Linked DNA regions of Homo sapiens: region 1 is linked to region 2. The links are contacts of gene promoters, found by promoter capture Hi-C in human tissues and cell types (Jung and others, 2019). All regions are on one chromosome and are shown on one strand. Each heading gives the region's core, a stretch centred on a gene start or on the middle of the fragment in contact. The rest is flanking DNA. Distances are from core to core; before and after follow the strand shown.

Region 1 (5,518 bases), core at 2,925-5,424, 230 kb before region 2:
CCTTGTCTTTCTGATGCCTTTTTGCTTTTTCATGTATTGTCTCTAAAATCTCATAAATCCTTGAATGATCACCTCCAGGGGCACATGGGGAAACTGAGGCTGAGGGAAAGAGAGTGAGTGTCAGAAGGGAATGCACAGTCTTTTATCTCTGTTCATCATCCTTTTCATTTATTTCATCAGCTCGCTCTAGAATTCTAGCAGAATTAGGAAGTTACAGACATCAGGGACCTCTTTTAGTCTAGCAGATTTAGATAAGTCTGAGGCATGTTGTTGAGTGAGAAAAGGAGTGAGTGACAGAATGACAAAGTGGACTCACTTTCCAGTTTTCCAGCTTAACATGGAAGTTCTGAGAAAATGTCCCCTCTACACATTGGACACAGCAAATTACAACACTTGCTCAGCGTTTTCACTGAAACTGAAAAACAAACTTTCCTGTTTTCTACATTTCAGGGTTGATGTTTTACCTGTGCAAACAAAGATCCCAGGAATGTTTATCTTGGGGGGTACATCTACTAAAGAACTGACCTAGAAAAGGTGGCGGGGAAATTATTGCTTTTGCAAAGGGAAAAATATGAAATTCCTGGGCAGTAATTAGACAACAAAACCCTCACTTGGAAGAATTGGAATCAGGGAAACAAGCCTCAGGTATGCGGGAAAGATGATCTAAGCCACAGAGCTGACTACTGCTGCTGCTGGCCCTGTGGAGATAAGCTCATAATTTTCCATCCAGAGGCCAGGCCCTAGACAGAGCATCAGACCAGGTTAGGCACAAAGGCTCGACCAAAGTTCACAGTCCATGTGGCACATATGACATTTTATTCAGCAAAATTAAATATTTAATAATTTCATCAAATTATCACCTTTCTAGTGATTTTGCATATGATTCTGCCTTTGTTTAAAAAAAAAACCACAAATTCATTTTATGCTTAAATATCTGAGTTTGATAGATAACCACTATCTCATCTCAGTTATATCCACTCCCTGCTCAGACTCACCCATAAGGTGCAGCCTTTGAAATAAAAGAAGTAAAGCAGAACACCTTTGCTCTGACTCCCAAAGCTGCAAAAGATGTCATGGGGAGTAAGAGCTGGGGTAGAGCCATGGAAATACCTTCAGGGGATTTAGCATTTTTTGGAGAGGATTCAAGCAAGTGCGAATGACCCAATGGTAAATACTTGAGCTCCCTAATAAAGTGAGTTTCAAAGCTGTCCAGGAGGTAGGGGAAAAAGGCTACTCCTGAGCTCTTGCTATAGAGAGGAAAGTTTGACTCTCATGTACACAGATAGCAAGCCACAAATGGGGGCTCCTTTTCCTACTCTTAATACTAACTAAATATGACTGTACCTTCCTGGGAACCTACATGGGGCAAAAGAAAAATGTTCTTTATGGTGCTCACAAAGTCTGCACATCAAGTTCTGAACATCAGGTTGCCGATATACCTGAGATTTGGACTGTTCAACTGAGGCAAACCTGAGGTTCCTGAGAGTTAGCAAGAGAGTCCCGGGGTAAACCTTGCCATGCTCTGGATGATGCCTATACACTGTTTCTGAAAGTGTAAAACCTCAGACCTTCCTCCTGAGGAGAAGCAGTTTTACTGATGGAACTAAGCTGCTCTCTCCAATCATAAGAAGCCAAAGAGTGAGCTCAAAAACACTCACCTGATGGTAGGACAAAGTAGTTCCCAAAAAAAGCAGAGGTGTGGGCCCTGGAATGCCAAGCTTCTTAAAAAGTCCATGTGAATGGGCTCCATATCTACAAACTGAATCAGAAATCAGGTCTCAGGGATTGTGACTTTATAGATATGGGGGCTGGTAAGTCACTGACTGAGGAACTGGAATGCTCAAGAGAAGGAGGTAACATTAAGGCAATAAATGATAACAGTAACTCTGACAGCAATGATTATATTTGTACATCAAGTCCTTTCCCGTCTCCACCATGAGACACCAAAAAGTCACAATGATTAGTCGAAAGCAGCAGAAGTCTTTATGGTCCCAATCCTGGAATGAATACTTGATAAATGTCCTCAAACGTGAGTGCTCCTCAGAGGTTCAGGAAGGAATTCTTCCAGGGCACTTCATTTCCTTATGTCTATTTAGTAAGTGGACTCTTCCCTGATTTGGGGATTCTCATCCTAGGCAGAAAGGGTGACTTTTTTTTTTTTTCTCTTCTGCAGTGATGATGAGATTTTGCATCACTGCATCCACTCAGTCACAGAGGGTCACTGAGAGCCTATGGTGACCATGTCTTTAGAATTTGTGAAGAGTCTTTTATACTTTCCTTTCCCTCTAAGCTCTGACCCTATTTTAGGATCTGGCCCTTCTTAAACTGTCATTCATAGAGGGGTGTCAGAGGAGTCACAGAGTCCTTATTTCTACAGATTGACAACTGTGCTGAAGGCTTCCATTGGCCTCGTAGAAATGCAAGCACCTTTCAGCTACACCTCAGTCTCTGTGGCCAGATGATCTGGTTGATTTGCGCTATTGGGGAGGATGATTAACTCATATTTCCCTGAATGACAGTGTGCAGAAGATCCACAACTTAAAAAACCAATTTCCAGGACATTCCTCCTCTTGTGGAATCTAGCCTTCCAACTGGTGGTATTCACCTGATAATAAGCACACTGCCAGTGATATGGTCTGAATCTGCCCCTACGCAAATCTCATGTGGAAATGTAATCCCCAATGCTGGTGGTGGGGCCTGATGGAAGGCGATTGTATCTTAGGGGCAGTTTCTCCTGGTTTCACACCAACCCCCTTTGGGTGTTTCCTCGTGACAATGAGTTTTTATGAGATGTGGTGGCTTATAAGTGTGTGGCACCTCCTCCCCACCCTCTCTTGCTTCTGCTCCAGCCATGTAATATCTGCCTACTTCTCCTTCACCCTCTGCCATGATTGAACATTTCCTGAGGGCTCCCTAGAGGCAGAAGTCGCTATGCTTCCTGTAGGGCCTGTAGAACCATGAGCCAATTAAATCTCTTTTATTTATAAATTACCCAGCCTCAGGTATTTCTTTACAGCGATGTAGGAAAGGACTAATACACCCAGATATGCTCACTTTTTTCAAGGTGATCAATCACAAAGCAGTCAGTTTATTGCCTCTGCACATCAAGTATCTCTGTAGGAAAACCCATTAAGGCTGCTGCTCCCTATGGCAGGCCTGCTTGCAACTCATCTTTGATGGGTCATGTATGGACTCCCCCAACTGAGGGTTCTGGATATCTGAAGACCTTCCCAGTCTGATGTTACTGAGGGGTGGAAGACTGGAGGAAGAAGAAAGGCTGATGGCAGACATCACCAGCCATCAACTCAACCGTGAATCTGCTAGTCCCACAAGGTTGGTCCCAGAGAGGCAAATTAGGAAAATGTGGCTGAAAAGTATGGTGTATATAAATGGATCCATATGCGTCATGTGTGCTTTCAGCTGAAAGACAGGCACCTTCTAATGTCCAGGTACCTTCCTGTTGATAGCAAAAGGTACAGTATTCCACATAAGTAAACATAAAATGTTCCAGACAGTTGAATGAAGACCTTGTTTTCTCTTCTATAATGGGTAGCACTTAAGGCAGTATAGGTTCCAAACATTCTGTACAAATCCAGTGACTCTGATAATATGTGGTAAAATACAACTGAGAAATGGCATGGAGGGTCGTGTTTGGAGATCCCAGCAGAGGCAGCATATAGTGCATTTGGATCCTTGCCCCAGAATAGTTAGTGGAAATGTGTGCACCATCTACTGAAACCAGGGTGGCCTTGGGTTTTCTACTCCTGTTCCTTCTTTTATTGTCACAGCTATGGCAAATCAATGACACTAATCTCTGCTTCTACACTTTCTAGAAGTTACGTGATCTCTCAGGTCAGGACAAACTATTGAGTTAATCTGTCAGCAGCACTGTCCCCCAAGGAAAGATCTAGGTGAGTGTCTAGACTCACATGGTTCCATGTCAAGGCAGAGGCTGTGCTGGGCAAACTGTTTAGTTTCTTTCTAGCTCCCCTCTGGTAGAGTAATACCACTTTTGGTTCCAATGAAGAGGCTAACAGAAAAGCCAGTCATCTATTGCACGTAATTGTGTTGGCCTAAGGAGGGCATGGTCTACACTACAGTTTCTGACTCCTGGGCTGCACCAGCATTGTCTAAGGCTAAGGCATTGTCTGCCTGGCTGCCCGAGTCTGTAGTGACCGCCCCACAACATGGCAGACCACGCACACAGTGACACATTTGATGTCCCTGTGTCCAGGCTTGAAGCAGATGAGATGCCAACCTGTTTGCCTTTTGAGTGACCTCCACTGTGGGGCCAGGACCCATGAATATCTCTTTGGAGTTCTACCCTGAGAGCTGAGGAATATTTTCTTACTTCATACGGATCCTACGTGGATGCCTTTGCTATCATCACTAGCTCACAGTATTGCTTACTCCCCTGCCTGACAGTTTAAGATAACCTGCTAAGCAGGTATATTCAAAAAGGAGGTATTAAAATAAACTGTCAGGCATGTATATTTAAAAAGACATATCTTTTTAAATATAAAAAGATATACATAAATATGTATATCGCAGTCTTGTCTTAGCGATATACATTCATGCTTTAGACTCATATTCCTGACATTATTCTGGAGAGGTGATGTTATTTTACACACATTTATTGTCACAAATACTGAACTAACAGCCCTCTTTCATCATCCAGAAGGAACATGCTGGAAATATTCCATCTCCAAAAAATTCTGATTTAAAAATGAATGAATTTAAACCATATCAATTCATTTTAAAATGTTAGACAATGGAAACCATGTTGCCACAACTCACTGAATTCCTAAGCTTTCTGTGAAAAAATTAAAATGAAGTTTATATTTCCTATTTTCATGTCATTGTTGTTGCCTGCTCTTAAAAGTCAAATTGAGGTAGAAGTTAATGGGACAGGTGGAGCCTCCACTAACCACAGTGGAAAGTAACTCTTCTCTCCACCTGCTCTAGGATGCCAGGAATCCCACCAGTGAGAGGGTTCATCCTCCTTTACTGTAACACAAAGGGGAAAAAATGTGTAAAATCCAAATTGGCTTTCACAGCTCCTGCCTTTTCAGGCTGCTAGCAGATTCCCATTAGCTGAGAAACAAAGCTCTATATTAATGCTAGCCTCCCAGAGACGGGAGGAAAAAGATTAAAGCAAAGAATAAATCTTCAAAACTTCCTCCAAGTCTCCTTTGCTCTGGAGATTAATCATTGCAAGGTAAATAGTTCTGTGTATGACAGGGTGGAGGAGTGAGTCATAGGAGGGAGGGGATGTTTTGGGACATGGCACAGGAAAGAGGGAAGAGCCGGGGGACAGCTTCCCGTGAAGTCTTGGTGTTCCCCGGTGTGTTATGTAAATGATATCCTGGGGTGGAAGTTAGGGGAGCAGGAACCACCAGGTCCACAGAGGAAAAACTTCTACACATCTCTTCCAGCAGACAGAGAACCCAGAAAATGAAGGTAATGAGACAAAAACCCAAGCTGCTCCCTCCTGCCCCCAGAATCCCGAGAACCTGGG
Region 2 (5,481 bases), core at 1,916-4,415:
TTAAACAAAATGTGGTATATCCTAACAGTGGAATAACACTCAACCATATAAAGGAATGTAATACTGAAACATGCCACAACATGAATGAACCTCAAGTTATGCTCAGTGAAAGAAGCCAGACATGAAAGACCACATATTGCATGATTCCATTTGTATGAAAGAGTAGGAAAACCAATAGAGACAAAACCATATGATGGTTGCATGTTTTGGGTGCTAATAAGAGTTTGAGAGTAACATGAGGGGGTAGGGTTTTTTTAAGTTGATGAAAATGTTATTAAATTGGTAGTGTTGATGGATATACAACTCTGAATATACTAAAGGCTATTTAATTGTATACTTTTGTCACTGGTAGAGGATAGTGACTGCAAGTTGTCCAGGTTCTTGGCGTTTTGAACAAGGAATTGGACAAAACTCCTAGCAAAGCAAAGAAAGGATGAAGCAACAAAAGAACGAAAGCAGGGATTTATTGAAAACCAAAGTACACGCCACAGTGTGGGAGCAATCCGAGCAGCGGTTCAAGGGCACGGATACACAATCTTCTTGGGTCCCAGTACCCACTAGAAGTTTCCCTTTGGCCAGTTCATGCTTTGCAGAAAGCAACCAATCAGAGGCTAGGAAGAAGTTACGAAGTTGCAAAGGAAGACTCATCTGCAAACAGCCTGATTTGTTGGGGACAGGCAATTTCCCATCTGCTGCACAGAAAAGGTGGGGGTGTTGCAAAGGGAGTAGCCTCTGGTCCTTGTGTTACTTAGGCAAGGAAAGTTAGAGTTTTCCTTTCAATTTAGTCCTAGGAAGTTGGCGTGAAACAGCCTTAGGTTCCCTTCCTCCAGAACCTATTCTCCTGCCTCACTTTAAGTGGATAAATTATATGGTGTATGAATTATATCTCAATAAAGCTGTTTTAAAAGGGGGTGGTATAAGGAAGAATTCCAAATGATGCTATTTGCGTTTTTCCTTGGTCACTTTGGCTGGGCTCTGGCTACAGTGGATGAGGGATTCTTATGAAGCACTTGTGTAGCAGGAAGAAAAAAAAAATTTCCTAGCTATTGCCAAAGCATCCCTTGGGATCCCCTAACTTACTTGGGGATAATTTGGGATTCAGAAAGAGAAAAAAAAATAGATAACTGCCTTTGTTGAGAATTTCAGGGCAAGAGAAAACTAAGAAAAGAGGGCAGCGTTCTGTTAAAAAAAAAAAGGGATAGAACAACACTGTCCAACAGAAATGACTAAGAGACTCGAGAAGACTGATATTCAGATTGCAGTTACCCGCCGAATCACACTGTGATGTCAGCCTCCCTTGCTGTTACTCCCAAATCAGCATATCAGCAGTAGAACTCTACTGCTTTTTCTGTGTGGTATTGAGGGTTATGAAATTAAAGAGTAGGAACTTGGTCCAGCATGAGTTGCTGCAGTTCTGGAGACAATTGTAACAAGCTGCAACGAGAACTGCAGAAATGAAGAATGAGAATTGAGCAGAAATCAGAGCTATCAGTGATCAAGGGGGCCTAAGCCCCTGAATTCACAGTAATTTTCCTTAAGGATATGGCCGGGTATTTGGATAAATCTATAGATATTAGAGGACACTGACTTATATATGCTTGAAGCCCAGAGTTTCTGGCTTATGACATGTGCTGCAGGTCTGAGGGGCATTCATTTACAAAACTTTGATGATAAGGGGAGCAGAGAATGTGGAAAAACAGAAAAGAGGTAAATGAAGCCAGTGAGACAGGAAGGGGCATTATCTTCAGCAACAGGAATGCCAACAGCAGTCATCAATATTTATTGAGCAGGACAGGGGAGAGACACAGTTTAGGGAGGCTTCTCCCGGCTGACTCTTGAACCAAGCCCATAAAAATTGTGATGCTGACACCAGAAAATTCCAGTGAAAAGGCACAGTCAGGAAATGCTTTAGACTACATGGCCCAAGGGGCCCTTAGAGATCCTTCAACAGCCTCTAATTTGTCACAGACATGAATCCCCACTCACTGGATGTTGGAAAGAAGATTCAATCACAGAGTTTCCTTCAGGCAAGTCAGGTGTCTTTATAACTCTGCAAAGTAGAGAATCAAGAAGAAGCTGAGATTTTTCCTAAGTGGAGAGAGACCTAAATGGAAGTTCAGGAGGGACAACGGACTAGCACTCTTGTCCTTGTTCGCTGGAAGGAACCATCAAGTTGATGGGGATGGACATTGGGATAGATTTTGAGAGCAAGAGAGAACAAAGAAAAGGGTTGGGAGTGGCGGTCAGAACACATCTGCCTAGAACCTGGTTACCTACTTTGTAACATGCAGAAGTTGTACTTCCCAGAAAGGTGAGGGACCTGCCCCGGGAGGAGATCATCAGGACACAAACATCAGTGACAGGAAGAGAGCGTGTCCTTCTCACCTGCTTCTTGAAATTGCTCTTTGGTTTCCACCACTGGGAGGCTATCGGTTGCTTTCTTGTGTCTTCTGGTGCTCTCTGAAGTTAGGAAGTATTTAGAAGAGGAAGATTTGTGCTTCCAGGTCCTCCACCATCTCCCCAAACCCAGAAGCACAAGCTCCAAAAAAGTAAACAAGAGACAGAAACCGCTGACTCCAAACATGGTCTTTAGGAAAATGGTCTTCTCAGAGGGGCGGGACAGATTGCAGGTTATACTACCAAGGCAAGGTTCTCGGCGACATGCAAAGGAGCTGGGCATCTGGAACCCATACAGGTGGTACTGCAACCCCAGGGCTGCCCCCTCCAGGACAAGCCGAGCCCCCAGCTGAGCCACATAAGCCCAGAGCAGCCTGAGGCTTCCAGCCCCTGGGACATCTGTGTTGCCCTCCCGTCCCTGGATCAGGGTCTCCTCCTCCTTCCCCTTTCCTGATAATTCCCAGTGCCAGATCACGTGATACAGAGTGAAACCCATATAGAGGGCGCTGGGTACAGCCACCAAGATGACCTGGAAGACCCAGAAACGCAGCGGGGAGAGGGGGTGGAAGGCATCGAAGCAGGCAGCCTTGCAGCCCGGCTGCTGGGTGTGACACACGAATTCACTCTGCTCATCACCATAGACTCCAGGCCCACTGGCAGCCAGCAGCACAAGGCGGAATCCCAGGAGCACGGGAAGCAAGAGGCGCCCCACGGGGGTGGAGCGCCGGCTCTCCTCCGCCAGCAGCCGCCGCAGGAACCTGCCACACATCCTGTTTTGGAGCAGAGGACAAGAGATCAGTGTTGTTCACTGTCCTTCAGAGGGAGCTCCAGTCCACCTTGTCACTCCTAATCCAAGGATCACTGAAGGCAAGCTTTTTTATTCCTCTCCAAGTATCTGACTGATTAAATACCAAGACTCTGATTGCACCTCTTTACTACTTAATGAAATCATCTATGTAAAATAATAACAGTGAGTGTGTGTGGTGTGGCTCTCTCTTCTGCCCTCCCCTTCTGTACTGCTGGAGTGGAGAGGAACTCTCAGGTTGGAGAGACCAGGATACATCTTCATCTCTCTCTTTCCCTCCTTCCCTCCGTCTCTCTTTCCCAAAGGCTGAACGTAAGAGAGTAGACTGGGATGTTTTGTTAATTTTCCTTTGAAAGGTATTGCTTCCCCAGCTGATGGCTGCCAGGCCTGGTGCTCCTACAGCATCATCTTAAGCAAATTAGTGCTGATGCTGAGAGGGAATGTGCATTCTCTTGCGGTCTTCTTTTCTCTTCCTCCATGCCCTTGGATGATCACAGGTGTGTCTGGATGTCCTCTTCTCCCATCACAGTGGTAAAGTTGAGAGGTAGTTAGGTTATGGGGCTAGATGTGATGGATGAAATGAACAGAGCAAGCATCGAGGCTTGCTTTAGTCTGATGCTCTTAGGCCTTACAAGCTGAGGAAGAAGAGAACATTTGGAAGGTAACCCAGCAGAATTTACCAGAATTACATACTATAGGATTTGGGGCCAGAGCCAGAACTGACTAGATAGAAATTCAGATTTTTGACCCCCACTTGCCATTGTTCCTTGGGCATATTATCTCCCTCATGGTGACAGGCGACCATGATCAAGGATAAGTTTCAGAAATCCCTCTGTTCCCCAGCCAAAATACCACAATGCTACAAGCCCAAGTTCACCATCTCTATATTTGTCCTAATCAGCTGCCTTCCCCAATGCCCAGCAGCTGTTTCAAACCGTCCCCATTTAGCCTAAATTCTCACTCATCTGGTTACCCTCACACTCAGAAGACCATGTGGTATGGTCTGAATGATGATCAAGATGCATATGCTAGAACCTAATACAGTAGTCCCCCCTCTTATCTGCGATTTCACTTTCTACAGTTTCAGTTACCCACAGTCAACAGAGGTCCAAAAATATTAAATGGAAAATTCCAGAAATACAAAATTAATGTTTTAAATTGTGTGCTGTTCTGAGTAGCACTATGAAATCTCACACCATCCCACCCAGGATGTGAATCATCCCTTTGTCCAGGGTATCCAACGCTGTAGACGCTCCTTGCTGGTTTGTGACTTAATCGCCATTTTGGTTATCAGATCAACTATCAATACTCGTTCAAGTAACTCTTATTTTACTTAAGAATAGCCCCAAAAAGCAAGAGTAGTGATGCCAGCATATTGTTACAATTGTTCCAGTTGTTCTATTTCTTTTTTTTTTTTTTTTTTTTTGAGACGGACTCTCGCTCTGTCACCAGGCTGGAGTGCACTGGCACGATCTTGGCTCGCTGCAATCTCTGCCTCCCAGGTTCAAGCAATTCCCCTGCCTCAGCCTGCTGAGTAGCTGGGACTATAGGGGCGCACCACCACGCCGGGCTAATTTTTTGTATTTTAGTAGAAACAGGGTCACTATGTTGGCCGGGATGGTCTCAGTCTCCTGACCTTGTGATCCACCTGCCTCGGCCTCCCAAAGTGCTGGGATTACAGGCATGAGCCACCATGCCCAGCCACAATTGTTCTATTTTCTTAGTAGTTATTGTTGTTAATCTCTTACTGTGCTAATTTGTAATTAAACTTTATCATAGGGATGTACATATGGGGAAAAAAAACATAGTATATATGGAGTTTGGTACTATCCACAATTTCAGGCATCCACTGGAGGTCTTGGAACATATCTCCCACAGATAAGGTGGAAGTGCTGTACTCAATGTGATAGTATTAAGAGGTGGAAAGGTGGAAGTGCTGTACTCAGTGTGATAGTACTAAGAGGTGGAGCCCTTACCAAGTGTCTTAGTCCATTTTGTGTTGCCACAAAGGAGAACCTGAGGCTGGGTGATTTATAAAGAGGTTTATTTGACTCACAGCTCTGCAGCCTGCACATCTGCTTAGCTTCTGTTGAGGGTTTCCATACTGTGTCAAAACATGGCAGGGAAGGTCAAAGGGGAAGAGGGACCAAACCCAAGGGGCATCCTGGCTTTACAACAACCCACTCTTGAGGGAACTAATCCATTCCCTCAAGAATGAATCCAGTTTCACAGAAGCGATAACCCACTCACTGCCACAAGAATGGCACCAAGTTATTCAT

The links. The method cuts DNA at HindIII sites, captures the fragments that hold promoters and counts their contacts. A contact is called where the count stands out against the background at its distance.
Region 1: a fragment that was not itself captured here is called in contact with the fragment with the promoter of GJC3 in region 2 in 2 of the 25 tissues and cell types used here (lymphoblastoid cells and mesendoderm cells).

Annotation. Positions count from the first base shown.
Region 1 is chr7:99,694,088-99,699,605 of GRCh38, forward strand. CYP3A7-CYP3A51P (CYP3A7-CYP3A51P readthrough) reads right to left here. Exons shown (of 15, transcript NM_001256497.3): 14 at 1,659-1,759. It also overlaps a transcript of ZSCAN25 not described here and the pseudogene CYP3A51P. Among named protein-coding and RNA genes, the nearest start is that of CYP3A5, 17 kb to the left of the region's middle. The HindIII fragment of the contact is 7,451 bases long and covers 450-5,518 here.
Region 2 is chr7:99,926,455-99,931,935 of GRCh38, forward strand. It overlaps GJC3 (gap junction protein gamma 3), which reads right to left and starts at 3,166. Exons shown (of 2, transcript NM_181538.3): 1 at 2,386-3,166. The coding sequence starts at 3,166. RefSeq lists enhancers at 2,379-2,964, 2,965-3,549. The HindIII fragment of the contact is 8,959 bases long and covers 1-5,481 here.